4 separate regions of the Homo sapiens genome follow, and all the other regions are linked to region 1. The links are contacts of gene promoters, found by promoter capture Hi-C in human tissues and cell types (Jung and others, 2019). All regions are on one chromosome and are shown on one strand. Each heading gives the region's core, a stretch centred on a gene start or on the middle of the fragment in contact. The rest is flanking DNA. Distances are from core to core; before and after follow the strand shown. Region 1 holds the start of KLF16 (KLF transcription factor 16). Region 2 overlaps GNA15 (G protein subunit alpha 15). Region 3 holds the start of DOHH (deoxyhypusine hydroxylase). Region 4 holds the start of ZNF57 (zinc finger protein 57).

Evidence for each region. Contacts are between HindIII fragments. The study calls those that stand out against the background at their distance.
Region 2: a contact is called between a fragment that was not itself captured here and the fragment with the promoter of KLF16 in region 1, in 1 of the 25 tissues and cell types used here (lymphoblastoid cells).
Region 3: the fragment with the promoter of DOHH here is called in contact with the fragment with the promoter of KLF16 in region 1 in 1 of the 25 tissues and cell types used here (spleen).
Region 4: the fragment with the promoter of ZNF57 here is called in contact with the fragment with the promoter of KLF16 in region 1 in 1 of the 25 tissues and cell types used here (lymphoblastoid cells).

What each region holds. Positions count from the first base shown.
Region 1 is chr19:1,860,523-1,867,508 of GRCh38, reverse strand. KLF16 (KLF transcription factor 16) reads left to right here and starts at 3,930. Exons shown (of 2, transcript NM_031918.4): 1 at 3,930-4,468. The coding sequence starts at 4,012. RefSeq lists enhancers at 1,840-2,394, 5,502-6,387, silencers at 2,568-2,787, 2,858-3,957, 4,288-4,467, 4,518-4,687 and a promoter at 2,837-4,041. The HindIII fragment of the contact is 11,768 bases long and covers 2,896-6,986 here.
Region 2 is chr19:3,151,438-3,158,599 of GRCh38, reverse strand. GNA15 (G protein subunit alpha 15) reads right to left here. Exons shown (of 7, transcript NM_002068.4): 4 at 6,765-6,893; 5 at 2,648-2,777; 6 at 719-872. GNA15-DT (GNA15 divergent transcript) reads left to right here and starts at 3,425. Exons shown (of 4, transcript NR_110670.1): 1 at 3,425-3,582. RefSeq lists enhancers at 3,105-3,194, 3,235-3,564, 2,852-3,809. The HindIII fragment of the contact is 4,542 bases long and covers 1-4,282 here.
Region 3 is chr19:3,497,831-3,505,073 of GRCh38, reverse strand. It overlaps DOHH (deoxyhypusine hydroxylase), which reads left to right and starts at 4,400. Exons shown (of 5, transcript NM_001145165.2): 1 at 4,400-4,513. It overlaps LOC105372245 (a long non-coding RNA gene), which reads right to left. Exons shown (of 4, transcript XR_936262.3): 4 at 4,023-5,139. RefSeq lists an enhancer at 4,289-4,398. The HindIII fragment of the contact is 49,740 bases long and covers 1-7,243 here.
Region 4 is chr19:2,896,890-2,904,330 of GRCh38, reverse strand. ZNF57 (zinc finger protein 57) reads right to left here and starts at 3,403. Exons shown (of 4, transcript NM_173480.3): 1 at 3,283-3,403. The coding sequence starts at 3,285. It also overlaps the pseudogene LOC100419704. RefSeq lists enhancers at 3,206-3,355, 3,215-3,786 and a silencer at 3,966-4,015. The HindIII fragment of the contact is 10,438 bases long and covers 1-7,441 here.

The DNA of each region.
Region 1 (6,986 bases), core at 2,681-5,180:
TGACCTCGGGGCCGCAAGCAATCCTCCCGCCTCGGCCTCCCGAAGAGCTGGGACCACAGGCGTGCACTACCATGCCTGGGTAAGTTTTGAATTTGTTTTTTATGCAGACAGGGGTCTCACTATATTGCCCAGGCTGGTCTTGAACTCCTGGGCTCAAGCAGTCCTCCCATCTCAGCCCCCTAAAGTGTTGGGGTTACAGGCGTGAGTCACTGCACCCGGCCCTGCAGCCTTGTTTTTGGCCCTCACCTACCTTGGGGTATCCATGTTGTGGGTGCACCCCCGGTTATGTGACCTCTGCCCTCATCTGTCCTCTGGGAGACTGTGTTCTTTGCCCTCTATGAGGCAAGGCCCCAGTTCCTGGCTCCGTGGCCCCTCTGAGAGTCCCGTTGTGTTCTTCCTGCCCTGCTAGAGACCCACTCCCAGCAACACCTGGGTGCTGTCTGTCCCCTGCTGAGCTTTGCTCCATAGCCCTCAGGCTTGGGAGGTCCATCTTTGGGGCTGGGAGGAGCTGTCCCCCTGATCCTCTTGGGCGCTGTCAGGGAAGGGTAGAGGTGAGCCCCCATTTATAGGTGAGGAACAGGTTTGAAGAAAGAAGGGGCTGAGTTATGGATGCCCCAAAGTGTCTGCTGCCTCTTAGCTGTGAGCAGGAGCCGGCTGTTCTCGGTCCTCTCCCAGTCTTGATTTTTTCATCTGTAGAATGGGAATGACAACTCCTTTTTTTTTTTTTTTTTTTGAGACAGGGTCCCACTCTGTCACCCAGGCTGGAGTGCAGTGGTGCAGTCACAGCTCACTGCAGCCTTGACCTCCTGGGCTCAAGCGACCCTTCCACCTTAGCCTCCTGAGTAGCTGGGACTACAGGTGTGAGGCCACTGCGCCCGCTAATTTTTTTTTTTTTTGAGACAGTTTCTCTCTTGTCACCCAGGCTGGAGTGCAGTGGCACGATCTCGGCTCACTGCAACCTCCGCCTCCTGGGTTCAAGCGATTCTCCTACCCCAGCCTCCTGAGTAGCTGGGATTACAGGCATGCGCCACCAGGCCCGGCTAATTTTTTTTGTATTTTTAGTAGAGACGGGGTTTCTTCATATTGGTCAGGCTGGTCTCGAACTCTCGACCTCAGGTCATCCGCCTGCCTCGGCCTCCCAAAGTGCTGGGATTACAGGCGTGAGCCACCATGACTGGCCTCCAGCTAATTTTTTTTTTTGAGATGGAGTTTTTGCTCTTGTCGCCCAGGTTGAAGTACAATGTTCGATCTCAACTCACTGCAACCTCCACCTCCCAGATTCAAGCGATTCTCCTGCCTCAGCCTTCTGAGTAGCTGGGATTACAGGTGCCCACCACCTGGCCCGGCTAATTTTTTCTTGTATTTTTAGTAGAGACGGGATTTCACCACATTGGCCAGGCTAGTCTCGAACTCCTGACCTCAGGTGATCTGCCAGCCTTGGCCTCCCAAAGTGCTGGGATTACAGGCGTGAGCCACTGCACCCGGCCTGCAGCTCATTTTTTAATGTGGAGAGTTGGGGGTTTCATTACGTTGCCCCGGCTGGTCTTGAACTGATAGCTTCAAGTGATCCTCCTACCCTGGTCTCTCAAAGTGCTGGCATTCCAGGCGTGAGCCACCGCACCCGGTGGAGAATTTACAGGGTCATAGAGAGTAAGGAAGAGAGGACAGAGCCCTGTGCCGGGCGCTGCTGGAGGTTTGTCTGTGTTCACCGCAGGGGTCATGGGTTGCCTGAGTGTTCCTGGGGCTTAGGGGTGTGAATAGAAGCCTCATGGGTGGGGTGTGGGCTGTGTGCCCTCACCTGGGGTCTCCTGCCTGTGGAGTGGCTGGCATGACCTGCAGATGAGGCCACTCACTTGAAACCCTGATAATGGCTGGAGTGGGCAGACAATGGAGTCTCACAGTGAAGGTCCTGCCTGGGGCCATGTGGCCCACCCCTGGAGGCTGCTCACCCCTGCCCCCCATCGTTAGCCTCCCAGTTACAACTGTAAGCCCCTTGAGGGCAGGGCTGGTTGGTTCTGCTCTAAGCCCAGGAAACATCAGTGGAAGACGCATGGTTGGGTGTGGACCCTGAGGCCTCAAGACACACCTGTCCACAAGCCAATGCGGGGTTCCAGGACCCTGGGGGCTGCTGGGATGGTGGGGACCTGGGGGACCTGCCCAAGTGGCCCATCGTCCTAGAAGTTCAAAGACAACAGAGGCCCAGCAGGAGCAGGAACGCCGACCCCCAGCGCCCACCGAATGGTAGGGGTGCAGAGAGGGCTCTGGAGCCCAGGCCTAGGAGAGGGGCAAGTGTGTGCAGGGCACCCTGTACCCTCCCACACTTCGCTGAACCTCCTCTCTCTCGGCTCCGCTCTGTCCAGCCACGTAGAGTGGGCTTACTGGGGCCCAGGGAGGGCTCAGCTGGCTTAACCAAGCATGGTTGAGCCCAGGCGCAGTGCGGGCGACCCAGGGAACAGTGGTCAGCCTCAGGGCGTCAGCTGGGGTTGCAGGTGGGCGGGGGATGGGGCTAGAGAAGCCCCGAATCGGGTCAGGGCCTCTGTCCATGCCCAACCCAGAGCAGGAGGTCGCCGCAGGCCAAAGCAGCTCCGCCCCCTGGAGGCAGCTCCGGCCACTGCGCAGTCCCCGCCGCCCCGCCGGAGCTGGGAAGGGGCGGGAGCGCGGTCGCGACCGAGGGGGGCCGCCCAGTTTCTGTGCCCCCGCCGCCTTGGGCCTGCGAACTGGGCCATCCGCGTCCCTGGTGTCCCCCCTAATATTTAACAAGTTGGCCTGGACGTCCTCGCGGCCGGGAGGCCCGAATACCTGGCCTCAGTTTTCCCGTCCGAACCCCAAGAATCGATGCCTGGGAATGGAAAGAGAAGCCCCGGACCCCGGTGTCCCAGCAGGGCGGGGAACCTCTGACCCGCTCAGGCGCCCCCAGCCCAGCCCAGCCCTTTGCGTTCGGCCCCCTCTTCCCGTCCCCCTATCCCGACCCTCTGGGACCCAACCGGCCCTCCCCACCCCCAGTGGGGCGCGCTCTAGTAGCTCCGGAACTGGGTGCAAAAAGAGGAACGAACGCAGCCTTGCCCCACCCTCCCGGGCCCCGCCGCGGGCGCGGGATACCGGGTGTCTCGGCCGGGAGGCTCCGAGGGGCTCTGTGAGCGGCGAGGGGGAACCCCAGAGAAGAGGACGAGCAGATGCCTGAGTGCGGGGTCAAAGCAGGGCCCCAGGCCGGGAGAAGAGGGGGGAAGGGTCGCGCACGTGGCCTGGGGGCGGGGCCGGCCGCTTCCGCACCCCTCCAACCCCGGCCACGTGGGGATCGGAGCCCTCCTCCATCGCGAACGGGGGCGCGCCCGGGGCCAGGAGGGAAGCATCCGGGGAGGGGGCGGGCTCCCGCCGGCCGCGCGCCCCGGCGTGGGGTGGGCGCGCCAGCGAGGAGGCGGGGCGCGCTCTGGGAGGGAGGGGCGTGCCGGGATGGGGCGGGGCGCGCTCTCGGAAGGAGGGGCGTGCCGGAGAGGGGGCGGGGTCCTCGGCCTCCCGCCCCGGCTTGAGGGGGTGGTGCTCCGGGAAAGGGTACGGGGGCGCGCGCTGGAGTGGGGCGCGCCGGGAGGGGGCGGGGCTCCCGGCCTTGCACCCTAGCGCGGAGAAGGCGCGCTCCGGGCCTAAGACGCTAGGCGCTGGCGGAGGCCGGAGTGGGCGCGCCGGGGGGCGGGTTCCTCCGGCCCGAGCCCCGCCCCCGGCGGCCGCGCGCGGCTCGGAGAGTGGTGGAGGGCGCGCCGGGCGGGGGGCGTGGCTGCGGCGCCCCGAGGGGGCGTCCTCCGGGCGGGGCGGGCTGTGGCCGCCCCCGCGGGCTCCGGTGCGTCAGGACGCGTCAGGCGGGGCGGGGCAGGCCGAGCGCGGGCGTCGGCGGCGGCGCGCGCCGGGCCTCCTCCTCCTCCTCCTCCGCCTCCCGCACTCGAGCAGCCGCCGCCGGCCGGACGGACGCCGCTCCCGCCGCCTCCGCTCCGCCCGCCGCGCCGCGCGCCCTTGCTCGGCATGTCGGCGGCCGTGGCGTGCGTGGATTACTTCGCCGCCGACGTGCTCATGGCCATCTCTTCGGGCGCCGTGGTGCACCGCGGGCGGCCCGGCCCCGAGGGCGCGGGCCCCGCCGCCGGCCTGGATGTGCGCGCGGCGCGCCGCGAGGCCGCCTCACCCGGGACCCCGGGGCCACCCCCGCCGCCCCCCGCCGCTTCTGGCCCGGGCCCCGGCGCCGCCGCGGCGCCCCACCTGCTGGCCGCCAGCATCCTGGCCGACCTGCGCGGCGGACCCGGAGCCGCCCCGGGGGGCGCCTCGCCCGCCTCCTCCTCCTCAGCCGCCTCGTCCCCGTCCTCGGGCCGCGCCCCCGGCGCCGCGCCCTCCGCCGCCGCCAAGAGCCACCGCTGTCCCTTCCCGGACTGCGCCAAAGCCTACTACAAGTCCTCGCACCTAAAGTCGCACCTGCGGACGCACACAGGTGAGTGCAGCCGCGATCCCGGCCCTTGCGGGGGCGGCCGCCTGAGACCCCTCCCCCGCCAGGACCCCGAAACTGCGTGGCGCGTGGGGGGCGGGGAGGGGGGCGCGCCCGGGCCGCCGCCGCGCCGGCCGGCAGGGCGGGGCCTCGGTGGGTGGGGCGCGCGCGGGGGGCGTGGCGGCCACGCGGTCGGGCGGCGAGCGGATGGCCGCCCCGGCGGCAGTGGCGGGGGCTCCGGGGGCCCAGCGAGGTCTGCGGGCGGGATTGAGACTCCTGGGCAGACCACCTCTCTCCCTTTCTGGGCCTTGTTCCGTTTTTTTTTTTTTCTTTTGCGTTCTGGTCTGGGCGGTGGGCACCGTGGTTGGAGCATCCGGCTCTGGGGTTCTGGGTTCTCCCCCTCCCCCAGCCTCAGTTTCCTTATCTGTGAAAATGGAGGAGGAACCGCGTCGCCGCCGCCGGGGTGGCCGCGCGGATTCTCCCCAGAGGTCGGCAGAGCACCTGGCGTGGGGCCAGGATGGGGGGAGCCCGGCACGTTTTCTCTGCGTTCTCTGTATTTTAACGAGGGGGAGGGCGAGGCTAGGAGCGCGGGTTGGGGCCTGAGTCTGGGCGGGGGAACTTCATAGTATTGGAGGACCCTCGAGGGGCTCGGGTCCACACTGCTGTATTTCCCTGGCGTGTTTGTTCACCCCTACCTGGCGGGCGATTCGGGAAGGTGCGCGTAGTTGGAGCGCTTCGGCTACACCAACGCCCCTCCTAGCGCAGTCCCCGGGGCGGCGAGGGGAACCGGGAGCCTGGTGGGCCTGGCTGTATTTTTTCACTCCGTCCCCTCCTAGGGTTCCACTTTCTGGACTGGGAGTTTGGACTGGGCAACAGGGGACGGTGGGCCTTGATGGCCGGCCCTGGTTTGGGCATTAGAGGTGCTTGTCCCTTCCGGGGAGGGTGGGGGGCTGGGGGAAAGCTGTGCGGCTGCCCTTGGGCTTGGCATTCTGGCCTTGCCACCAAACAGAAGACCTCTACCCGATCTGGGTCTCAATTTTCTCATTTCTATCAAGAGTGCGATGCTGCCTCTATTTCATAGCCATAGCGGTGGCCGCTTTGGGCAGCTGGACACTCCAAGGAGGCTTGGTCCGTGGGCTCGGATTGTAGGGACACGTGGAGCAGCCGAAGGGAAGTGGGCCGTCCAGAGTGGTGGGGCTGAGATGAGCAGGGGCCGCGAATGCCTTGCGGAAGAATTGAGGGTCCATCTTTGGGGTATGGGGAGCCGCGCTGGGACGCCTGAGGGTGGAGAGCAGGAGGGCGGGTGGGGGCGGTGGTGTGTAGCCTGCCGGCCGCCCCCTCTCTGTTCTGCACTCTTTTCACCCCTCGCTCAGTCCCTGTCCTGGTCCCAGGGGCCTGGAGGCTCTGCCCACCTTGAGACACAGACGGGAACCGAGGGCGTCAAGACAGGACTTGGGTGGGGTCTGCGTTTTCTGCGAGGAGCCACACATCCTCGGCGGAGGGGTCCCAGGGTGTTACCTCTTTTTGAGGGCAATGGGGTCCGTGTATCTCCGCGGGGAGGGACATTGGGGGTCTGTGAAGATGGCGAGGCAGCGTTGGGAACAGAAAGGGAGGTGCCTCTCCGGGCGGTGGGCAGGGGTCCAGGAGTGCCCTGGCTTTTTGGGGGTAAGTTGGGCGATCTGAACAGACGGGGCTGAAGTGGGAGCCTGTTGGGAAAGCGACTCCCACCTGTCTACCCAGGTCATTCTTTTCTTGCCAGATGGCGTGGCCTGAGAGCTCCATTTGGGTTTTCTGAGTTTCTGGGTTAAGTGGACGGGATGGCCACCTCCCTGAGTGGCACCCAAGAGGCGCTTCCATAGGCCCCCGGGTATTGGGGCAGCGGTCCCTAAGCCAGCAGGGAGGGGAGGGATGGGTTTGGAGTCCTGGGAAGGCAGTATTGTTATCCCGGGATTGCAGTAAGAAACAGGCCTGGGGGTGCCCAGTCGGGCATCCCCAGGGGTGGATGCAGTTGTGCTGATGGCGCGCCACCGTCTACCCTGTGTGGTGGGGGAGGGCAGGGCGGATCTCCTGGCACCCTCCCCCACCCCTTGAGCCTGCTGACGTCCCATTCCAAAGCCCCCTTTACAGTAACGATTTGGGGACTGGGAGGGCAGTCCCAGGCCCAGGCACCTTGGATTCGGTTTCCAAAGGGTTTTGGATACTTGTGGCTTTCCAGGCTCCTCTTCCGGGCCTCCCCAGCCCCCAGGACCACCAAGGGGTCTGTGTAAACGGCCTCTTTTAGTGGAAGGTGGTCTGGTTTTTCAGCCCCCGGAGGAGGGAGGGAATGGCTGCCGTTAAGCTGGTTTTGGGGGACAGGAAGGCCATGCGTTTTTTTGGGAGGGAGCCCCATTGCAGGGCTGTCCCTGAATGGAGTGGAGGCCGGGAAAGATCCGCAGACGAACCCGAGTCACCGGTGGCTGCAGGGCTGTCCCGGGGGCCATTGAGAACGAGTTCCACCCCCACCCACCCCTGCCTGGAGTGCTTC
Region 2 (7,162 bases), core at 762-3,261, 1.3 Mb before region 1:
CATTCTTAAAACCTAGGCAGATTCTGGAAATAGTAGACAATCTTTCCAGAAGTGCTTTACAACAGTGACCTCTACATAGCAAACCCATGCTTGAAGGATCTTGGCTCAAACCCCAAATGTTGGCCAACAAGCATAAAATAAAATGTTTGGCCGGGCATGGTGGCTCCTGTCTATAATCCTAGCACTTTGGGAGGCTGAGGCGGGTGGATCAGGAGGTCAAGTGATCGAGACTATCCTGGTCAACATGGTGAAATCCCGTCTTTTCGTACTAAAAACACAAAAATTAGCTGGGCGTGGTGGCGCGCACCTGTAGTTCCAGCTACTAGGGAGGCTGAGGTAGGAGAATCGCTTGAACTCTGGAGGGAAAGGTTGCAGTGAGCCGAGATCACGCCACTGCACTCCAGCCTGGTGACAGAGCAAGACTCTGTCTCAAAAATAAATAAATAAATAAAATGTTTAAGGTGTACGTGATATGCTACGTGTTTTTAGAATTCCTCACTTTACTCAGTTCCAAGGGCCTCTGCTATTTTATTCCATTCCACAGAAGGGAAAACAGATTCAATGAGGTCGGGCAGTGGATGGAGCTGAGTCTAGAACGCGGGTCTGATCCTATGTGAAAGTTCCGGTGACTCCAGGCTGAAGTAGAGTCTGGATTAGCATCTCTCTTCGGAGCTGCTTTTGGGAGTTGAAGGGTATAGAAAGTTCTAGAATTACTTACCCTGGAAACTGGGGAAATAGGTAGCCAGGTGGGAGGTGGGGATTTTCTCCTCCAGGATGTCGGTTTTGTTGAGAAAGAGGATGACGGATGTGCTTTTGAACCAGGGTAGTTCCAGGATAGTCCCAAACAATGCGAGGCTCTCCTTCATGCGGTTCTGTGTTGGGGGCAGAAGCAGGTTAGTGCTTCAACCAGCCAGGTGGGACAGGAAACCCTCCCATCGCGGAGACGGGGCTGTTGGCTCCAGGGGCATGGGCTCACCCCTATCTGCCTGGCTGGGGCTGAGGCGGGTGTGCCCGTGTTTCCATATGGACAGCTGCCTGGGTGTGCCTGACATGGTTTTGTGCCTGTGCTGGTTGGAAGTGTGTCCTCCCGAAATTCATGTCCCCCCAGAGCTTCAGAGTGTGACCTTATCTGGAGAGAGATTCTTGAACTCCTGGCCTCCCAGCGTGCTGGGGTTATAGGCATGAACCACTGCACCTGGCCTGGAGATAGGGTCTTTGAAGAGGTCGTTAAGGTGAGGCAATACTAGAATACGGTGGCCCTCAAGTCCGTGACTGCTGTCCTCATAAGAAGAGGGAGACCTGGCCGGGCGCGGCAGCTCACGGCTGTAATCCTAGCACTTTGGGAGGCCAAGGCGGGCAGATCACCTGAGGCCAGGAGTTGGAGACCAGCCTGGCTAACATGGTGAAACCCCGTTTCTACTAAAAATACAAAAAATTAGCCGGGCATGATGGCAGGTGCCTGTAAACCCAGCTACTCGGGAGGCTGAGGCAGGAAAATCGCTTGAACCCGGGAGGCGGAGGTTGCAGTGAGCTGAGATCGCGCCACTGCACTCTAACCTGGGCGACAAAAGCGAGACTCCATCTCAAAAAAAAAAGTACAATAAGGTCTCAAATGCCTTGTGTTATGGGGTACATCATATTTCCCCAAAATTCATACGTTCAAGACCTAACCCCCTAGAACCTCAGTTTGTGACCTTCTTTGGAAACAGGGCCATCACACGAGGAATTAACCCAGATGAGGTCGTACTGGAGTAGGGTGGGCCCTGATCCTAGACGACTGGTGTACTTATTAAAAGAGGCTATTGGCTGGGCACAGTGGCTCACGCCTGTAATCCCAGCACTTTGGGAGGCCGAGGCGGGCGGATCACGAGGTCAGGAGATTGAGACCATCCTGGCTAACATGGTGAAACCCCCTCTCTTCTAAGAATACAAAAAAAAAATTAGCCGAGCGTGGTGGCGGGTGCCTGTAATCCCACCTACTCCGGAGGCTGAGGCAGGAGAATGGTGTGAACCCGGGAGGCGGAGTTTCCAGTGAGCCGAGATCGCGCCACTGCACTCCAGCCTGTGCGTGTGCGTGCATGTGTGTGTGCACGCATGTGTGTGCCTGTGTGCCTGTGTGTGCGTGTGTGTGCCTGTGTGTGCGTGTGCATGTGTGTACTGTGTGTGTGCATGTGTGTGTTCATGTGTGTGCGCATGTGTACATATGCGTGTATTGTGCACGTGAGTGCATGCAAGTGTGCATGTGTGTGGTGCATGTGTGTTCGTGTGCATGTGTTGTGCATGTGCACTGCGTGTGTACATGTGTCCCGTGTGTGCACGTGTGTATGTGCATGTATTATGCACGTGTCTGTGCGTGTTTGTGTGCATGCATTGTGTATGTGCGTGTGTGCACTGTAGTGTGTGTGTGTGTGTGTGTGTGTGTGTGTGTGTGTGTGTCTGGGGTCCTGACCAAACAAATGCTGTAGGTCTGTGTCTTGGGTTGCTGCAATCTGACCACAAAAGGCTGAAGGGTCAAGTTCATAGCCATGCTGGGCACACACAGGCCCGTTCAAGAGCAGGGATCCCTCCCTTTCTGCACCAGAGCTTCCTGCTCAGGTGAGGGTCCCTGGGCCAACAAGTGGGCAGGGCGAGGGAGGCGGTGGCGCACCTCCTGGTTGTTCTCCTCCAGGCACTGGTCGTATTCACTCAGTGAGGCCAGGTAGATGAGGGCGATCACGTTCTCGAAACAATGGATCCATTTCTTACGCTCTGACTTCTGGCCCCCGACGTCCACGATCCTACAGGGAACCGAGGTGCCCCCTTTCAGAGCTCAGGAGCCTGCTCCGTGACACCCCCAACCCCCATCACGTCTGGGATATGCCAAGATCCATAATAGCGACAGCAAGAATAGGTGCTAGCCTCTCGTGGATTTGCCATGTCATTCCCGCGAGGCAAGGATGAGTCTTACGCCCATTTTACAGATGAGAAGCCTGAGATCCAGGGAGGAGCGGGGACTTTCCCAAGCTTCTACTGTGCTGGGCTGCCTGCTTTCTACCCCCATATTAGAGGGGAGCAGGTTGGACAGATCTGAGATGTGCCCTGGTGCTGGCTGGGCGACCCGGCGGAGGAAATTGCCAAACATCTCCAAAACTCAGTTTTCCCATCTGTGCTATGGGGCTCCTGTGCTCTGGCTGGCCATGGGCATGTCCAGTGGCCACACAGATGGGAATGAGGGCTGTTCCCAGAGCACACGTCCTCCCCTCCATCTGTGACTCAGCCCCACGCACCGTAACAAAAGCCTGAACCCTGCCCCCACCTTCCTGTTCTCTCTCTTCTGAGAAATGTGGGTCGCTGATAACCATCTGTGCGTCATTTCCCTGGGGATGCAACCGTTACTCAGGAAGTCCCAGAACAGAGGCTTTGGACGGGCCCGGCCCAGGGCCTCAAGCAAGAAGGGACTTGCCCCATTGCACAGGAGGGGAAACCGGGACTGATGATGAAGCAGTTAGGCTGCAGCTGCTGGATGTGTCTCCTGATCCCTGAGACCCACTCCTCCCATGCATCCTCAGAGTCCCTCAAACCCCACATCCAGAGCCAGACAGGGTAAGCAGCCGTCGAGAGGGGGCTCTGGAGACTGAGACGGGAGTGGGATCAGCAACTGACCAGTTGGGAACTGTGGGCATCACCTCTCATCTCGGGTCTCAGTGTCCTCTGAGCCCTCACTCCATTCATTCGTCTCACTCCTGGGCCACACCTAAAAATCACTTCCTTGGCCCAGACTTCCCCATGATTTCCCAGCCTCTACCTTCACTCCTAAACTTTTATCCACCCACCCACCCCATTCATCGATTTATTCACTCATCCATCCACCCATCCACCCACCCACTCATCCATCCACCCATCCAGCCATTCACTCATCCATCCATCTATCCATCTACCCATCTATCCATCCATCCATCATCCATCCACCCACCCATCCATCCACCCATCCAGCCATTCACTCATCCATCCATCTATCCATCTACCCATCTATCCATCCATCCATCATCCATCCACCTGTCCACCCATTTACGAAATCCACCCACCGACCCACCCATCCATCTCTCCATTTACTCATCCATCCATCCATCCACCCATCTGTCCACCCATTACCCAGCTACCCATCCATCCATCTACCCATCTATCCACTCACTCATCCACCCATGTACCCATCCACCCACCCTCCCACCCATCCACTCATCCATTCATCCACTCACCCATCCACCCATTCATCCATTCATCCGTCACCCACCACCCATCTACCCATTCATTCATCCATCCATCCACTCATCCACCCATCCATCCACCCATTCATCCATCCATCCATCACCCACCACCCATCTACCCATTCATTCATCCATCCATCCACTCATCCACCCATCCATCCACCCATTCATCCATCCATCCATCCATCCATCCCACCCATCCATCCATCTATCCATCCACCCATCCATCTATTCATTCACTCATCCATCCATCTATCCGTCTATCCATCTACCCATCTATTCATCCATCCATCATCCACCTGCCTGTCCACCCATTTACTCAATCCACCCATCCATCCATCGCTTCATCTACTCATCTATCCATCCACCCATCTGTTCACCCATTATCCATCTACTCATACATCCATCTACCCATCTATCCACTCACTCGTCCACCCATCTACCCATCCACCCACCCACACCCCCATCCACTCATCCATTCATCCATCCATTCACCCACTCATCCATCCATCCTTCACTCACCCATTCACCCATTTATTCATTCATTCATCCATCACCTGCCACCCATCTACCCATTCATTCATCCATCCATCCACTCATCCACCCATCCATCCATGCATTCACCCACCCATTCATCCATCCATTCATCCATCCCACCCACCCATCCATCTATCCACTCATCCATCCATCCTTCACTCACCAATCCACCCACCCATCCATTCACCCATCACCCTTCCACCCATCTACCCATTAATTCATCCATCCACTCATTCACCCATCCATCCACCCATTCATCCACCCATCTATCCATCTATCCACTCATCCACCCACTCATCCATTCATGTATCACCCATCCACCCATCTAACCATCCATCCATCCATCCATCCACTCATCCCTCTTTCAATCCATCCATCTATCCATCCATTCATCCATCCACCCACTCATCCATCTATCCATTGATTCATCCACTCATCCATCCTGCCACTCCATCCATCCACTCATCTATCCCTCAACTTATCCATCCATCTATTCATCTATCCATCCACCCATTCATCCACCCATCCATTCCCTTCCATCTTTCCTTTTTTTTTTTTTTTAAAGATTCCCAGACCAAGTATCTCTCCCATAGAAGTCATCCTTGGGTACTAACACTACTATTGTGTCCCAGAGCTGGTTCCTTCTCGTGGGTTCTCGGTCTCGCTGACTTCAAGAATGAAGCCGCAGACCTTCGCAGTAAGTGTTACAGCTCTTAAAGGTGGTGTGGACCCAAAGAGTGAGCAGCAGCAAGATTTATTGTGAAGAGCGAAAGAACAAAGCTTCCACAGCGTGGAAGGGGACCCGAGCGGGTTGCCCCCATTCCATCTTTCCAACCATCCACCCACATTTACCAACTTCTACTCTGACCTTTAGCTATTCACTAAAGAAGCAGAAGAATCAAACTCAGCCCCTAACCTTGTGAGGCTCTCCATCTTGTAGAGGAGACCCACAGAAAACAGATAAATTATGAACCTTCCTAGTAAGGACTATTGAAGAGGCCAAAACAATAGGTTTGGGGGATTTAGGGAAAGGAAGGCCAAATAGGGGTAGGTCAAACACAATCGCTGTCTCTGGGCATGACTTTGCACCCCTGCTCAGCTCCCCGCCATCAGCCCATGGAAACAGATCTTGCTAAGGTCACCAGTGACCCTCTAACTGCCAATCCCAGAGTCATTCTTCTCACTGTATTCTTGACCTTTCCTTTCCTGACCTTTGACATTGGCCATTGCTCTGCTGGGTTAGGGTTAGGGTTAGGGTGCTGCACTGGCCATTCCCACCTCTGTCTGCCAGCTAAGGTGGAGTCCCCCTAGGCCCCTCAGACTCAACCTGTCCCAAAGGACTCCATCACCACCTTTTCATCCTCTAGCCCACCGGCTCCACTGTCTACCCCCATCACCTTGACAAAAAACTCAGGTGTCATTTTTGACTTCCTGTTCTAATTCCCACACTCATCCAGTCCTGCCCATTCCACATCAGAAACAACTCTTGCCCATCCCTTCCTTTCCATCCCCACGCCCGCTGTCCTGGCTCCTCCTTTTTCTGAGTTTCCTGACTTCCAGCCTCACACTCTAGTCCATCCCCCAGTGTTGATGACTACAGGGATCACCTCTGAGCTCCCCAGACCAGGCCTCCCCAGACCTGGTCCTGACTGTATAGTCTCTATTTCCTCCTCCCCAGCAGCCCCTTCAGGGTTAGGACTACTGAACTCCTATTCGTCTTTCAAAACCCCATTAATATTCCCTCCTCCAAGAAGATATTCCCTCCTGGATCTCTGATGCCTCAGCCTGGGCTCCTACAGGTCCCAGTCCTGACTACCTGGGGGCCTGGAGGTGTCTACATGGAGCTTTGCTTCCCCTAGCTTGGCAGCTCCTTGAAGGCTGGGCCTAAGAAACTCCTACTCATCCCTCAGGGCCCCAGCTCCTTTGCCCTTCCTACAGGAAGCCTTCCCTGCCCCCTAGGCTGGGCCTAGGTGGAGCGCTCACCGCAGGTTGGTTTTCTGCACGGAGAAGCAGTACTCGTTGATGCCAGTGGTGGGCATGCGGCTGCGGAGCACGTCCTGAGCTGTGGGGACGTAGCCCTCCTCGGTGATGCGCTCCAGGTGGGACAGGTAGCTGCAGAGCAAGGAGTCCTGAGGCCCAGCCTTGCAGCCAGCCTCCCTTTGCTTCCCAGGCCCTACGAAAGGCCCAGCAAGGACCCTGCTGGGGGAGGAGAGCTCCCTGGGTGGAGGTGGGGTCCCTGGAGTTGGCAGATGGCCCAGGAGCGTCCCCCACCTGAGGCAATGGAGCCCCAAGGAAAAGCAGCTTCACACGCAGAGCAGGGTGACCCGAGGGATGGCGTGACATGAGGAATGGCCTCATCGAGGAGTGGTGTCCCCCGGGAG
Region 3 (7,243 bases), core at 3,151-5,650, 1.6 Mb before region 1:
GTGCATAGCAGCTTTATTCATAACATCCACAAAGTGCACACAACCCAAATGTACATCCACAGATGAAGGGAAAATGCTCCATTCATACAATGACACGGTGTTTTGCAATATGAGGCAATGAGGCTCGGACACAGGCTACAGATTGGATGAACCTCGAAAGCATCATGCCCAGTGAAAGAAGCCAGATACAAAAGACCACATAGTGAGTGATTCCATTGATACGAAATGTCCAGATAAGCAAATCCATAGAGACAGGAAGTGGATTAGTGGTTGCCAAGGGCTGGGAGAGGGGGATCAGGAGTGACTGGAATGGACTTTATTTTGGGGGGTTGATGGATATGTTCTAAAATTGATGTGATGGCCGTGAGCTGTGGCTCACACCTGTAATCCCAGCACTTTGGGAGGCTGAGGCGGGCAGATCACTTGAGGTCAGGAGTTCAAGATCAGCCTGGCCAATCTGGTGAAACCCCATCTCTACTAAAAATACAAAAATGAGCCGGGTGTGCTGGCGCGCACCTGTAGTCCCAGCTACTCGGGAGGCTGAAGCAGGGGAATCACTTGAACCCGGGAAGTGTAGGTTGCAGTGAGCCCAGATCATGCCACCACACTCCACCTTGGGTGTCAAAGCAAGACTCCGTCTCGGAAAAAAAAAAAAAAAATTTATGTGATGATGGCTGCCCGACTCTGAATATACTAAACACCACTGAATTATCACTTTACACAGATGAATTGTACAGTATGTAAACTATATCTCAATACAGCTGTTATTTAAAAAGTTCTTGCCCGGCGCAGTGGCTTGCGCCTATAATCCCAGTGCTTTGGGAGGCCAAGGAGGGCGGATTATGAAGTCAAGAGATCGAGACCATCCTGGTCAACATGGCGAAACCTCATCTCTACTAAAAATACAAAAATTAGCTGAGCGTGGTAGCACGCGCCTGTAATCCCAGCTTCTCGGGAGGCTGAGGCAGGAGAATCCCTTGAACCCGGGAGGCGGTGGTTGAAGTGAACCGAGATTGCACCACTGCACTCCAGAAAAAAAAAAAAAAATCCCCTTTGGAGCTGAGTTAAGGAGAAAAGAGAACAGGGAAAAGGAGGAGGCAAGAGGTTACAGTTTCAGATGCAGTGCTCGGGGATGCTCTTATTGCAAAGATGATGTTTTAATAAAGATCTGAAAGAGGAGCTGGGCGCAGTGACTAACGGCTGTAATCCCGGCACTTTGGTAGGCCGAGGTGGGCAGATTACTTGAGGTCAGGCCTTCAAGACCAGCCTGGCCAACATGGTGAAACCTCATCTCTACTAAAAATACAAAAATTAGCCGGGCATGGTAGCAGGCCCCTGTATTCCCAGCTACTCGGGAGGCTGAGGGAGGAGAATCGTTGGAACCCGGGAGGCAGAGGTTGCGGTGAGCTGAGATCGCGCCACTGCACTCCAGCCTGGGCAACACAGCAAGACTCTGTCTCAGAAGAATAAAATAAAAGGAGAGGAGAGGGAGATTCTAACACAGAAACACAGAGACAGACACACAGGGGTCAAGGCCAGGTGATGACAGTGGCAGAGATTGGAGTGACGAAGCCACAAGCTGAGAAACACCAAGGACTGGCGGCCACCCCCAGAAGCTGGAAGAGGCAGGAAGGATCCTCCCCTGGAGCCTCCAGAGAGGCCACAGATCTGCAGATACCTGGATTCCAGACTTCCGCCCCCCAGGGACTTGCTCAATCCCAGAGGACCCACCGAACAGAAGACGCAGACTTGGTTCTTCTGTGCTATCAGTTTCTCGAAGGTCTACAGAGGCCAGATGCCAAGTTCTCTGACTTACACAGGCCTTGCTTTTGGCTGAGGCTTCGATATCTGCGTCCTGCACCCTGGGATTATCTCCTCCTGGGGAGCATCCTTGGGGCCAGTCACACCTGGCACCCTGCCCTCGTAGCCTTCCTGAGTCAGCACAGCTCCTGGTCCACGGGAAGTCCTCCGTAAACAGCCTGAGCCACAAACATGTTGAGATGACGTCCTCGCAAGGCAGCTGAGGGCTGCAGTGATGCCTGTTATCTGCAGTCAGTTTTCCAACACATAGGAAGGCAATACAATAATTTAAAAAAAAAAAGGGGGGGTGGGCCGTGCACGGTGGCTCACGCCTGTAATCCCAGCACTTTGGGAGGCCGAGGCGGGCGGATCACGAGGTCAGGAGATCGAGACCATCCTGGCTAACACGGTGAAACCCCGTCTCTACTAAAAATACAAAAAAATTAGCTGGGCTTGGTGGTGGGCACCTGTCGTCCCAGCTACTTGGGAGGCTGAGGCAGGAGAATGGCGTGAACCCAGGAGGCGGAGCTTGCAGTGAGCTGAGATCGCCCCATTGCACTCCAGCCTGGGTGACAGAGCGAGACTCTGTCTCAAAAAAATAAAAGTGGGGGTGTCAGCTCCATGAGGCCAGACACTGTGTCTGTTTTGTCCTGTGTCCTCTGTGCCCAGGACACTATCCTCTGTGCTCAGGACACTGTCCAGCACACAGTAGTTGCTCAATAAGTATTTGTGAATGTTGTCTTAAAATAGAAGTTGGCCTTCCAAAAGGATTTCTTTGCTATGCACAGCATTTTATGTTTTTTCATTAATTTTTATTTAATTATTTTTTTGAGATGGAGTCTCACTCTGTCACCCAAGCTGGAGTGCAGTGACGCGATCTTGGCTCACTGCAACTTCCGTCTCCTGGGTTCAAGTGATGCTCCTGCCTCAGACTCCTGAGTAGCTGGAATTACAGGCACCCGCCACTAGGCCAAGCTAATTTTAGTATTTTTAGTAGAGATGGGGTTTCAGCATGTTGGCCATGCTGGTCTTGAACTCCTGACCACAAGTGATCCACCTGCCTTGGCCTCCCAAAGTGCTGGAATTACAGGCGTGAGCTACAATGCCCAGCCATGTTTTTTTATTAATTGCTCATTTTTTTTTTTTTTTTGAGATGGGGTCTTGCTCTGTCACCCAGGCTGGAATCCAGTGGTGTGATTACAGCTCACTGGATCCTTGAACTCCTGGACTCAAGCTATCAAGCCACCTGAGTAGCTGGGCCTACAGGCATGAGCCACCAGGCACAGTTGATTTTTTTTTTTTTTTTTTGGAAATGGAGTCTTGCTCTGTTGCCCAGGCTGGAGTGCAGTGACAGGATCTCAACTCACTGTAACCTGTGTCTCCCAGGCTCAAGCGATTCTCCTGCCTCAGCCACCCAAGTAGCTGGGATTACAGGCTGAGCCACTGCGCCCAGCCAAATTAAAAAAAATTTTTTTTCTGTTGAGACGGGGGCTTACCACATTGCCCAGGCTGGTCTTGGAATCTTGGGCTCAATCGATCATCCTCTCACCCCACAGCCTCCCAAAGTGCCAGGATTACAGGTATGAGCCACCACTCCTGGCAGTCACCCACATTTTAAAAATAAGAGATTGCAAGCAGGGCACAGTAGCTCACGCCTGTAATCCCAGCACTTTGGGAGGCCAAGGCAGGTGGATCACCTGAGGTCAGGAGTTTGAGACCAGCCTGGCCAACATAGTGAAACCCTGTCTCTACTAAAAATACAAAAAGTTAGCTGGTGTGGTGTTGCATGCCTGTAATCCCAGCTACTCGGGAAGCTGAAGCCTTTTTGTATTTTTAGTAGAGATGGGGGTTTCACCATGTTGGCCAGGCTGGTCTCGAACTCCTGACCTCAAGTGATAACACCCACCTCGGCCTCCCAAAGTGTTGGGATTACCGGTGTGAGCCACCGTACCCGGCCTCTTTCAGGTCTTTCTTCAGATGTCACCACCTCAGATTCTGGCCACCCTTCCTGAAACTGCACACCCTATACATACACCGCCCTTGGCTACCGAATTTTTTCTCGTTAGCCTTTTTCACCATCTAATAGGTATTGCATTTACTTATCGTGTTATTTTCTGTCTCTATAACAACACTGGGAGGCGTACGAGGGTAAGGGCTGAAGGCTCTCTTGTCCTCAAGGCCATGTACTATTTATTACATACATGAATGAATGAACGACTGCATTTCTTCCTTTTTTTATTCCTCACCTACTTAAGGTTCGAGCTCCCTGAGCCCATTGGCCAACACCTCTGGAGTCTGACCACGCCTAGAAACACTGCGCATGCTCCGTTGCTAGCCAGCCCAGGCAGGGCGCTGAATCGGCACAAACCAGTCTCACTTCTTGTACCGCAGTGGGGAGGTTGGAGAGAATTTTTTCCCATGAAAGGGCATACGTTGCCCGTCCCCTTCCCCGAAGAACGCACTAGGAATACTGTTCCTGCGTTTGCATGAGCTGTGGCACCAGCACCGACTCAGCCTTCCGGGCCTCCCTCATGCACGGAGCCTCTCACTAGGTCTCACCCGCGGCTGCGTTGGTGCCGTCCGGCACGGTCACGTGGGCGAGAAAATGGCGGCCCCCAGACCGCACTGCGGGCGTCGCGGCAGGTGAAGCGGTGGTGGCAGAGGCGCCTGCGGTTACTGGCCGGGCCGACGGGTCCTGAGTCTCCAGAGCTCGGTGAGGCGTCCCGGAGGCGGCGATCACGGTGTGGGGCCCGGGTCTGGCGGGCGGTGGCACCGGGAGCGCCTCGTTAGGGAATCCGGTCTCAGGGATTCGTTGACTGTGGATGGGGCGGGTTAAGGGGTCTCGAGTCCCGGCGATCTCTTTCCTCTGGGATTTTTTACATGAAAGAGTGCCCACCTCACGTCCTGAAGCTCCTATGTCGTACGGTTGGGTCTCAATGGTCCCCAGTGCCCTGCCAGCTCGCACAGGCCTGCCCTCTGGTTTCTGATGACCCCTCTTTAAAGGTGTCACTCTCCTTTGATGGTCACCTGTGCTTAGGTGGCTACACTGCCCTCGTCAAGCCCAGGCAGCCTTGCTGACGCCACTGTTCACCAGAGAGGGCTGCCAGCATGCCATAGCCAGCCTGTCTTGAGATGAAGCATCCGCCAGGTTCTCAGCCGATCTGGAAAGAGAGGGGTCCCTTCTCCCCTTGGCTGTGTTCTTTTATCCTAAGTCATTCAACAAAGCGTTGGTGGTTTAGAGCCCGACTCTGGAGCCAGACTTCCTGGATTCCTAACTCTTCACGCTGCTCCCAAGCAAGTTCCCAAGCACAGTCCCAAACTGTGCCTCAGTTTCCTCACCTGTAAAATGGGGACAATCTTAGTAACTACCTCACAGGGTAGTGATGTAGATCGAATGAATTAATGAATGTAAAGAGCATGGAGTGCCTGGCGCGTAGCAAATGCTACATAAGTGTCAGCTGCTATTGTCACGGTTGTCGTTTTTATTTTATTTATTTATTTTGAGACAGGGTCTTGCTTTGTAGCTCAGTCTGGAATGCAATGGCACGATCTCGGCTCACTGCAACCTCCGCCTCTCGAGTTCAGGCGATTCTCCTACCTCAGCCTCCCGAGTAGCTGGGATTACAGGCGCCCACCACCACGCCCAGCTAATTTTTGTATTTTTAGTAGAGATGGGGTTTCACCATGTTGGTCAGCTGGTCTCGAACTCCTGAACTCAGATGGTCTGTCCACCTCGGCCTCCCAAAGCGCTGGGATTACAGGCGTGAGCCACCGCGCCCAGCCGGTTATTGTTTTTATTGAGGCCCTACTGCGTGCAGGTCATTGCACTAAGTGCTGGGAATACAACAGTGACCAAGATAGACTCAGTCCCAGCCTTCAGAGTTCTATTCTAATGAGGGATAAGACCAATCACAAGCAACTAAACCAATACTTTCCAATATGATATCTAGGAGTCTTAGGCGCCGTGGAGAAAAATAAAGCTGAATAAGTGAAAAGAGATGGAAGAGTAACATTGTCCATTGTGATCAGGGAAGGCTTCCATGAGGAAGTGATGTTGGAGACCCAGGAAAGCAAGAGGATGAGCACGGGTGTTCCTGGACCAAACTGAGGGTCGGGCTGCTATTTCTCATGGTCCAATAACGAGATGCAGATTAACTGGGGAGGAAGAGAGTTTTTATTTCTGTAACCGGTTACAGGGAGAAGGCCTGGAAAATATCGCCAGACCAACTCAAAATGACAAAGTTTTCCAGAGCTTATATACCCTCTAAGCTCTCCATCTACATGTAACTGAGCATCCATCTAAAGACTTAAAGTGACTAACTTCTTTTAATCTATAACTAAGATCTGAATCCTGAAGACTTTCCTTTGGAACCTCAGTAAATTTACTTAATCTAAATGGGTCCAGGTGCTGGGGTGATCACCCTTATCTCATCTCCAGTGGGTCCAGGTGCTGGGGTGATCATCCTTATCTTGTCTCCTGCTAAATCATGGAGGTTTGGGGAGTTCTTCAGACACCCAGTAAAACTTGTTTCATCCTAAACGGGTCACATTAAGAATTCCTTCGTTATTGGCTGGGTGTGGTGGCTCAAGCCTGTAATTCCAGCAGTTTGGGAGGCTGAGGCGGGTGGATCACCTGAGGTTGGGAGTTCGAGACCAGCCTGACCAACATGGAGAAACCCTGTCTCTACTAAAAATACAAAATTAGCCGGGCATGGTGGTGCATGCCTATAATCCCAGATACTCGGGAGGCTGAGGCAGGAGAATCACTTGAACCCTGGAAGCATAGGTTGTGGTGAGCCGAGATAATGCCACTACACTCCAGCCTGGGCAAAAGAGCGAAACTCTGTCTCAAAAAAAAAAAAATTCCTTCATTATCTTGTCATGCCTTAAGGCCCAGGAAAGGCCTGGGCAAAACTCTTCATGGGCTTTTGTTACATTCCAGCCTTTGTATGAGGGCACTGGCTCTTTTAGCTTTTAATGTTTAACTTAACCACTCAGTCAGTGCTGAAACAGTTATGGAGGCCTGTGTTAGTGAGGCCTGGCCTGCTACGTGGGGACATCTAGGGAAGAATGTTCCTCATGGAGATCACAGCAAATGCAAAGGCCCTAGGGCTGCACTGGGCCTGGCGTGTTGGAGGAACAGCGAGGAGGCCTGTGTGGCTGGAGTGGAGCTAGAGAGGGAAGAGGTGATGGGAGATGGTCATGAAGGGCCTTTGGGACTGTCAAGTAGTTGAGTGAGGAGGCATAGGAGGATTTTAAGCAAGGGAGTGATATGGTCCAGTTTACATATTGAAAGTACTTCTGAATCTGTTATCTAAGCTGTGTAACAAAAATCCCCATAATGGCTGGGGGTAGTGGCTGATGCCTGTAATCCTAATGCTTTGGGAGGCTGAGGCAGGATGATCACTTGAGCTTGGGAGTTGGAGACCAGCCTGGGCAACAT
Region 4 (7,441 bases), core at 2,154-4,653, 1.0 Mb before region 1:
AACACACTTGAATTAACCCAAGCCTGACAAACGCTGGAATGATTGAACTAACTGCGTCACCCACTGTCTCAGACACCAGCATGTGCGCAAAGGAAAGAAACCACAGAAAAGCCTTTTGAGCTGCTATTCACGGTGCATTAATGGTCACAGTCACTTATTGAAATTTCAGGCCAGGTGCAGTGGCCCATGCTTGTAATCCCAGCACTTTGGGAGGCCAAGGAGGGCAGATCGCTTGAGTCCAGGAGTTTGAGACTAGCCTGGGGCAACAGCGAGGCCCCCCGTCTCTACAAAAAAATATAAAAATTAGCCAGGAATGGGCCGGGCGCGGTGGCTCACGCCTGTAATCCCAGCACTTTCGGAGGCTGAGGCGAGCGGAACACCAGGTCAGGAGATCAAGACCATCCTGGCTAACAGGGTGAAACCCCGTCTCTACTAAAAATACAAAAAATTAGCCGGGCGAGGTGGCGGTCGCCTGTAGTCCCAGCTACGCAGGAGGCTGAGGCAGGAGAATGGCGTGAACCCCGGAGGGCGGAGCCTGCAGTGAGCCGAGATCGCACCACTGCACTCCAGCCTGGGCGACAGAGTAAGACCCTGCCTGAAAAAAAAAAAAAATTCAAAGGAGGCAAAATTAAAACTCTGTATGGTGATAAATAATAAATGGTAAAGGTAGAGAGAATGAAAAAAAAAATCAGGACAGTGGTTACCCTGGGGGCAGAACAGAGATGAGCGCTGGGAGCAGCACACAGGTGTTGAAGAGAGGCCGGAGGCCTATTTATGCGGGCAGTAAGGCCACTGGTGTTTATATTAAAACTTAATCCAGGCCGGGCGCGGTGGCTCACGCCTGAAATCCCAGCACTTTGGGAGGCGGAGGAGGGTGGATCACTTAAGGTCAGGAGTTTGAGACCAGCCTGGCCAACATGGCGAAACCCCGTCTCTACTAAAAATATAAAAATTAGCCGGTCGTGGTGGCAAGTGCCTGTAATCCCAGCTACTCGGGAGGCTGAGGCAGGAGAATTGCTTGAACCCGGGAGGCGGATGATACAATGTGTGGAGATCACGCCACTGTACTCCAGCCTGGGAGACACAGTGTCTCCAAAAAAGAAAAACAACACTTAAAGCATAAACTAAACCCACTGCTTAGAAACGGCTCCAAGACAGCACAGGTGCAACCTCAGAAAGGCTAAAACGCCCACAAGCACATCTCCAGGACAATCGTCTTTCCCATGCTCAGCAGCCTCAATCAGCATGAACAGTTCCCGCTGCGGCTGTTCTACGAGGCAGGAGGACTGAGCAAGTGGAGGCTGCCCAGCCAGACCCCGCTGCACCCTCAGCGGCCTCCAGTGCAGGCTCAACTGTGGGCTCAGCTGGAGTCACCGGTCTTGGGGCTCACCTCCCTGCTCCAGGTGCTACACTTTAAATGCCACAAAGACCCTCATCCCGTAGAGTGAGAATGCAGCAGAATCAGTGCTTTCCACCCCTTGTGTAAGTGGGGGAAGGGAGTTCCAAGGCAGTCTTTATGACTTTACATGGCCAGAAACTGCTTTTCCCAGTCAGCAAACAGATGATGGATCAGTGAAGCAATACTCCTGGTGACAAACTGGAAACTAACCAGAATGGAACACGCCTCAGTTTTACAGGTTTTTGCAGAATTTGCATTAATCTCATGTCTAGCTGAACTGAAATGGAACACGATCACACACTGTCGCAAACTCTGCACCTTGTATGGAAGAATAACTATTATTTTTTGTCTGATTGCTTTGGCATTTGAAAAACTACTATTTTTATGAACATTTTAATCCATCTCTAGCTGCTATAAGATGTGGAACTGCGCACACTTTCTCTACAATTCTGGTGGGAGACAGAATATTCCTGAGAGACTTCCTTAGGCCATGCTTAGCCTGTACCCCACGATAAACAGGTGTTATCCTGACGGACCAGAAGGCAGAAAACACACTTGAACATTTTCCTATTGTCACTAAGGAGAAGAAAAAAGCCAAACAGGAGAACAGTACAGTACATTTACTGACACCGGCTGCCCGAATAAAGCTTTCACAGCATTAGTGATACCCTGCAACAAAACCCCCAGGGCAGCTAACTCCCACCGCTGAGGTCGTCCCCCAAACTGCCTCTGACCCCCAGGCCGTCCCTTGCCATCCCCCCAAGCTGTCCCCTGTAAGGTTCTCTGAGCTGGCCGCACCATGGTCAAGCCCCCCGCCCTTGTGATAATGTACTTTGTGATATTCCCCCGCCCTTGTGAATGTACTTTGTACGATACGTCCTCCTCGCCCTTGTGAATGTACCCCGCCCTTGTGACAATACACGCTCGCGCCCTTGTGAAGGTACTTTGTAATATTCCTCCCAGCCCTTGTGACAATACATCCCCCAAGCCCTTGTGAATGTACTTTGAAACATCGTCGCCGCCCTTGAGAATGTACTTTGTAACACCCACCAACTGTCCTCAAAAAAACTGCTCCTAACTCCGATGCCTGTCCCAAACCTATAAGGACTAATGATTGCCGGGCGCGGTGGCTCACGCCTGTAATCCCAGCACTTTGGGAGGCCGAGGCGGGCGGATCACAAGGTCAAGAGATCGAGACCATTCTGGCCAACATGGTGAAACCCTGTCTCTACTAAAAACAAAAATTAGCCGGGCGTGAGGGCGGGCGCCTGTAATCTCAGCTACTCCGGAGGCTGAGGCAGGAGAATCGCTTGAACCCGGGAGGCGGAAGTTGCAGTGAGCCGAGATCACGCCACTGCACTCCAGCCTGGCGACAGAGCGGGACTCCGTCCCAAAAATAAAAAAAATAAAAAAATAAAACCAATAATAATCCCATCACCCTTTGCTGAGTCCTTTCTCAGACTCAGCCCACTTGCACCCAAGTGAGTAAACAGCCTTGTGGCTCACACTAAGCCTGCTCAGGTGACCTCTTATACGGACACGCGTAACATCCCCAACCTGCTGACCGTCCCTTGCCGTCCCCCCAAACTGGTCCCTGACCCCTGACCGCCCCTACCGTCCCCCCAAACTACCTCCAGCCCCCCTCCTGCCCAGGCCTCCCCCTAAGTTACCCCCAAGCTCCTTGCCGCCCCTTCCGTCCCCCCAAACTGCCCCCAGTCCTCCAGCCCGGCCGCTGTGATGGCGTCCCCGGGTCCCAGGTGCTAGTCCTGCGCCGCCCCGCGCGTCCCTCAGCCAATCCCGGCCGCAGACTTCGGCGGACTCTGGTTCCAGCCGGTTCCCGTCGCTCCGACCGTCCCCTGGCTCTGCTCCTGCCTCGCACTCACCATGTCTCCCCTGCTCCTGGGCTCTCCAAGGCGAGCTCTCCGTGGCCTCGCGGCCGGCGCAGCTGAAAGGTACAGGTACTCCCGGGCCGCTCGTGGTAGGCAGGGCACGCGCGGCAGGGAGGACGAAACGTCCCGCCCTCGGGGCCTCGGAGCTCAGGAAGCGGCGCCCTGATTGGACAATCTCTAAGCCCCCGCCCTTTCAACGCTCTGAGCGGACAGCGTTTTGGACACGCCCCCTTCACCCCTGGGGCCTTCGATTGGACACTACTGCAAACCTGCAATCCGCTTCCCGGTGTCCGCCCCGTGCCTTGATTGGACAGTTTTCCGGACCCGCCCCCGGAGCACCTGATTGGAAGATAACTTCCGCGCCGCCCCGCCTCCTGTCGCCCGAGTGACCGGCGCGTAGCCAACGCTAGTGGCTGACCCGCCAGCGGTGGACACTCCCGTTTGCGCGAACTCGCTCTGGCCCGGGGTGAGCCCAACCTCTCCCCGCAGCTCGGCCGCGCCTCCCGCGTCCTTCTCCCGAACGGGCACGAGAAGTCCAGACTCAGTTTCCCCACGGAGCAGCCGGAGTGCTGCGTGGAGGGGAGGGGCGAGCGAGCGGCGTGGGTCGCGTGGGGTGAGCCCTTCGTGGGGCGGGGTCCTCAGCCGTGACGTCACCGCGCTGCCCCGCGTGGGCGCGGACCCCATGGAGGCCCTGCCCCGTGCTGGAGCACGTGCTGTCAGTGTCCTGATTTTTTTTTTTTTTTTTTTTTTTTTTTTTGAGGTGGAGTCTCGCTCTGTCGCCCAGGCTGGAGTGCAGTGGCGCCATCTCGGCTCACTGCAAGCTCCGCCTCCCGGGTTCAGGCCATTCTCCTACCTCAGCCTCCCGAGTAGCTGGGACACAGGCACCCGCCACCACGCCGGCTAATTTTTTTGTATTTTTAGTAGAGACGAGGTTTCACCGTGTTAGCCAGGATGGTCTCGATCTCCTGACCTCGTGATCGGCCCGCCTCGGCCTCCCAAAGTGCTGGGATTACAGGCGTGAGCCACCGCGCACGGCCAGTGTCCTGATTTTTTTACCCAAACGTTTCCCAGCCTCCTGTCCTTCCCACAGGCCCCTGCACTTTGGCTCGCCCCCGACATCTGAGCCTGCACTAAAATAAGGACCAAACCTCGAGTCACCTGATCCCGAAAATGGGCGGACCCCAGGGAGCCCCTATCCTGTCTGGCCTCGCTGGATTTGTTTTTTTGTTGGACATTGTTTTTTGTTTTATTTATTTTTTTATTTTGAGACGGAGTCTCACACTGTCGCCCCGGCTGGAGTGCAGTGGCGTGATCTCGGCTCACTGCAACCTCCGCCTTCAGGGTTAAAGCGATTCTCCTGCCTCAGCCTCCCGAGTAGCTGAGATTACAGGCGCCTGCCACCACGTCCGGCTAATTTTTGTATTTTTAGTAGAGACGGGGGTTTCACTATGTTGGCCAAGCTGGTCTTGAACTCCTGACCTCGTGATCCGCCTGCCTCGGCCTCCCAAAGTGCTGGAATTAGAGGCGTGAGCTACCGCGCCCGGCGGACATTCTTTAGATCAAGAAATCCGGGGCCGGGCATGGTGGCCCAAGCCTGTAATCTCAGCACTTTGGGAGGCCGAGGCGGGTGGATCACGAGGTCAGGAGATCGAGACCATCCTGGCTAACACGGTGAAACCATCTCTACTAAAAATACAAAAAAATTAGCCAGGCGTGGTGGCGGGCACCTGTAGTCCCAGCTACTCGGGAGGCTGAGGCAGGGGAATGGCTGAACCCGGGAGACGGAGCTTGCAGTGAGCCGAGATGGCGCCACTGCACTCCAGCCTGGGCAACAGACGGAGACTCCGTCTCAAAAAAAAAAAAAAAAAACAAAATCCAGGCCAGGCGTGGTGGCTCACACCTATAATCCCAGCACTTTGGGAAGCTGAGGTGGGTGGATCACCTGAGGTCAGGAGTTCAAGACCAGCCTGGCCAACATGGCGAAACCCTGTCTCTACTAAAATACAAAAATTAGCTGGGCCTGGTGGCGCGTGCCTGTAATCCCAGCTACTCAGGAGGCTGAGGCAGGAGAATCGCTTGAACCTGGGAGGCGGAGGTTGCAGTGAGCTGAGATCCTGCCACTGCACTCCAGCCTGGGCAAAAGAATGAGATACTGTCTGAAAAAAAAAATTAAATTTAATTTAAAAATAAAATTAAATAAATAAATTTGGGATAAACCAGTTAACTGTCTCTCAATCTCTCTCTCTTGTTTTTTTTGTGTTTTTTTTTTTTTGAGACAACGTCTTGCTCTGTTGTCCAGGGTAGAATGCAGTGACAAGATCATAGCTCGGCCGGGTGCAGTGGCTCACGCCTGTAATCCCAGCACTTTGGGAGGCCGAGGCGGGTGGATCACGAGGTCAAGAGATCGAGACCATCCTGGCCAACATGGTGAAACCCTGTCTCTACTAAAAATACAAAAATTAGCTGGGCATGGTGGCGAGCGCCTGTAGTCCCAGCTATTCGGGAAGCTGAGGCAGGAGAATGGCTTGAACTAGGGAGGTGGAGGTTGCAGTGAGTTAAGATCGTGCCATTGCACTCCAGCCCTGGTGAAAGAGTGAGACTCCATCTCAAAAAAAAAAACCAAAAAACAAAAAACAAAAAAACCAGCTCACTGTAAACCAGAACCCGTGGACCAGTTAACTCTTTTTATTTTTTGTAGACAGGCTCTACCTATGTTGCCCAGGTTGATTTTGAACTCATGGCCTCCCGCCAGGACCCCAAAATGCTGGGATGACAGGCATGAACCACCGTGCCTGGCCCACTGAACTCAATATGCTTACAGAATGCAAATGCATTTGAATTGAGGAGTCTTCGCCCTCACAAAGTTGTTTATATACCCATGGGCGACCTCTCTGTCACCTTCTCATGAGATACCTGAAATTGTCCTCACACAGACCCGGCAGGTGGTGTTTAGCCTCTTCCTCAATATTTTATATACTTTTTCCAGAAAATGAAATTTTAGTCCATCAATACATTTAATTATGTATATTGCACGTATTTTATCAAGTTCTGGCAGTTTTGCAGTTATGTTTAGTTTCTCAGAAAAGCAATATTATCACTTCCAATGACAAGATTTACTTCTACCGTTACATTCTTTTTATCTATCATGGTGATTTTTGACGATGTTACATTCAAGCAGGGATAAATAATTGAAGTGAAAATGGGTGTTCCTTTCACTTGGAAGCCTGCTGGCACCTACCTGTTCTTCTCATGTTCTGTAGCCAGACCTTCTATGAGTAGCAGGCTGGCCTGTCAGTCATTGTGTCTGAAATTGACCAGAGAAATTTTAGCAATGGAAAGTAATTGAAAAAAATGTGGCCGCCTACTTAGAAGGTTTTATGCAAGTTGGGCCAGATGTGGTTGCTCACACTTGTATTCCCAGCACTTTGGGAGGCCAAGGCAGGAGGATCGTTTCAGTCCAGGAGTTCGAGATCAGCCTGGGCAACATAGGGAGAGCCCATCTCTATAAAAAAAATACAAGCCGGGCGCGGTGGCTCATGCCTGTAATCCCAGCACTTTGGGAGGCCGAGGCAGGTGGATCATCTGAGGTTGGGAGTTCAAGACCAGCCTGACCAACATGGAGAAACCCTGTCTCTACTAAAAATACAAAATTAGCCAGGCATGGTTGTGTGTGCCTGTAATCCCAGCTACTCAGGAGGCTGAGGCAGGAGAATGGTGTGAACACGGGAGGCGGAGCTTGCAGTGAGCTGAGATAGTGCCACTGCACTCCAGCCTGGGCGACAGAGCGAGACTCCGTCTCAAAAAAAAAAAAAAAATGTTCACAGTCCAGAGAAAGCCTACAAATGCAAAGAATGTGGGAAGGCCTTCTTTCGTTCCTTCTACCTGATCATACATGCCAGAATGCACACGGGAGAAAAAGCCTACAGGTGTGTGGAATGTGGGAACACCTACAGTTGGCCCTCGGACCTTAGGGTTCACATGAGAACACACTCTGGGGAAAAGCGCTGTGGATGCAAACAGTGTGGAAAATCCTTCAGTTCTCCCTCCTCCTTTAAGGGACACATAAGGACTCACACTGGAGAGAAACTGTACACCTGTAGGGAATGTGGGAAAGTCTTCAGTAGTCCCTCATACTTCCGAACACAAGTGAGAA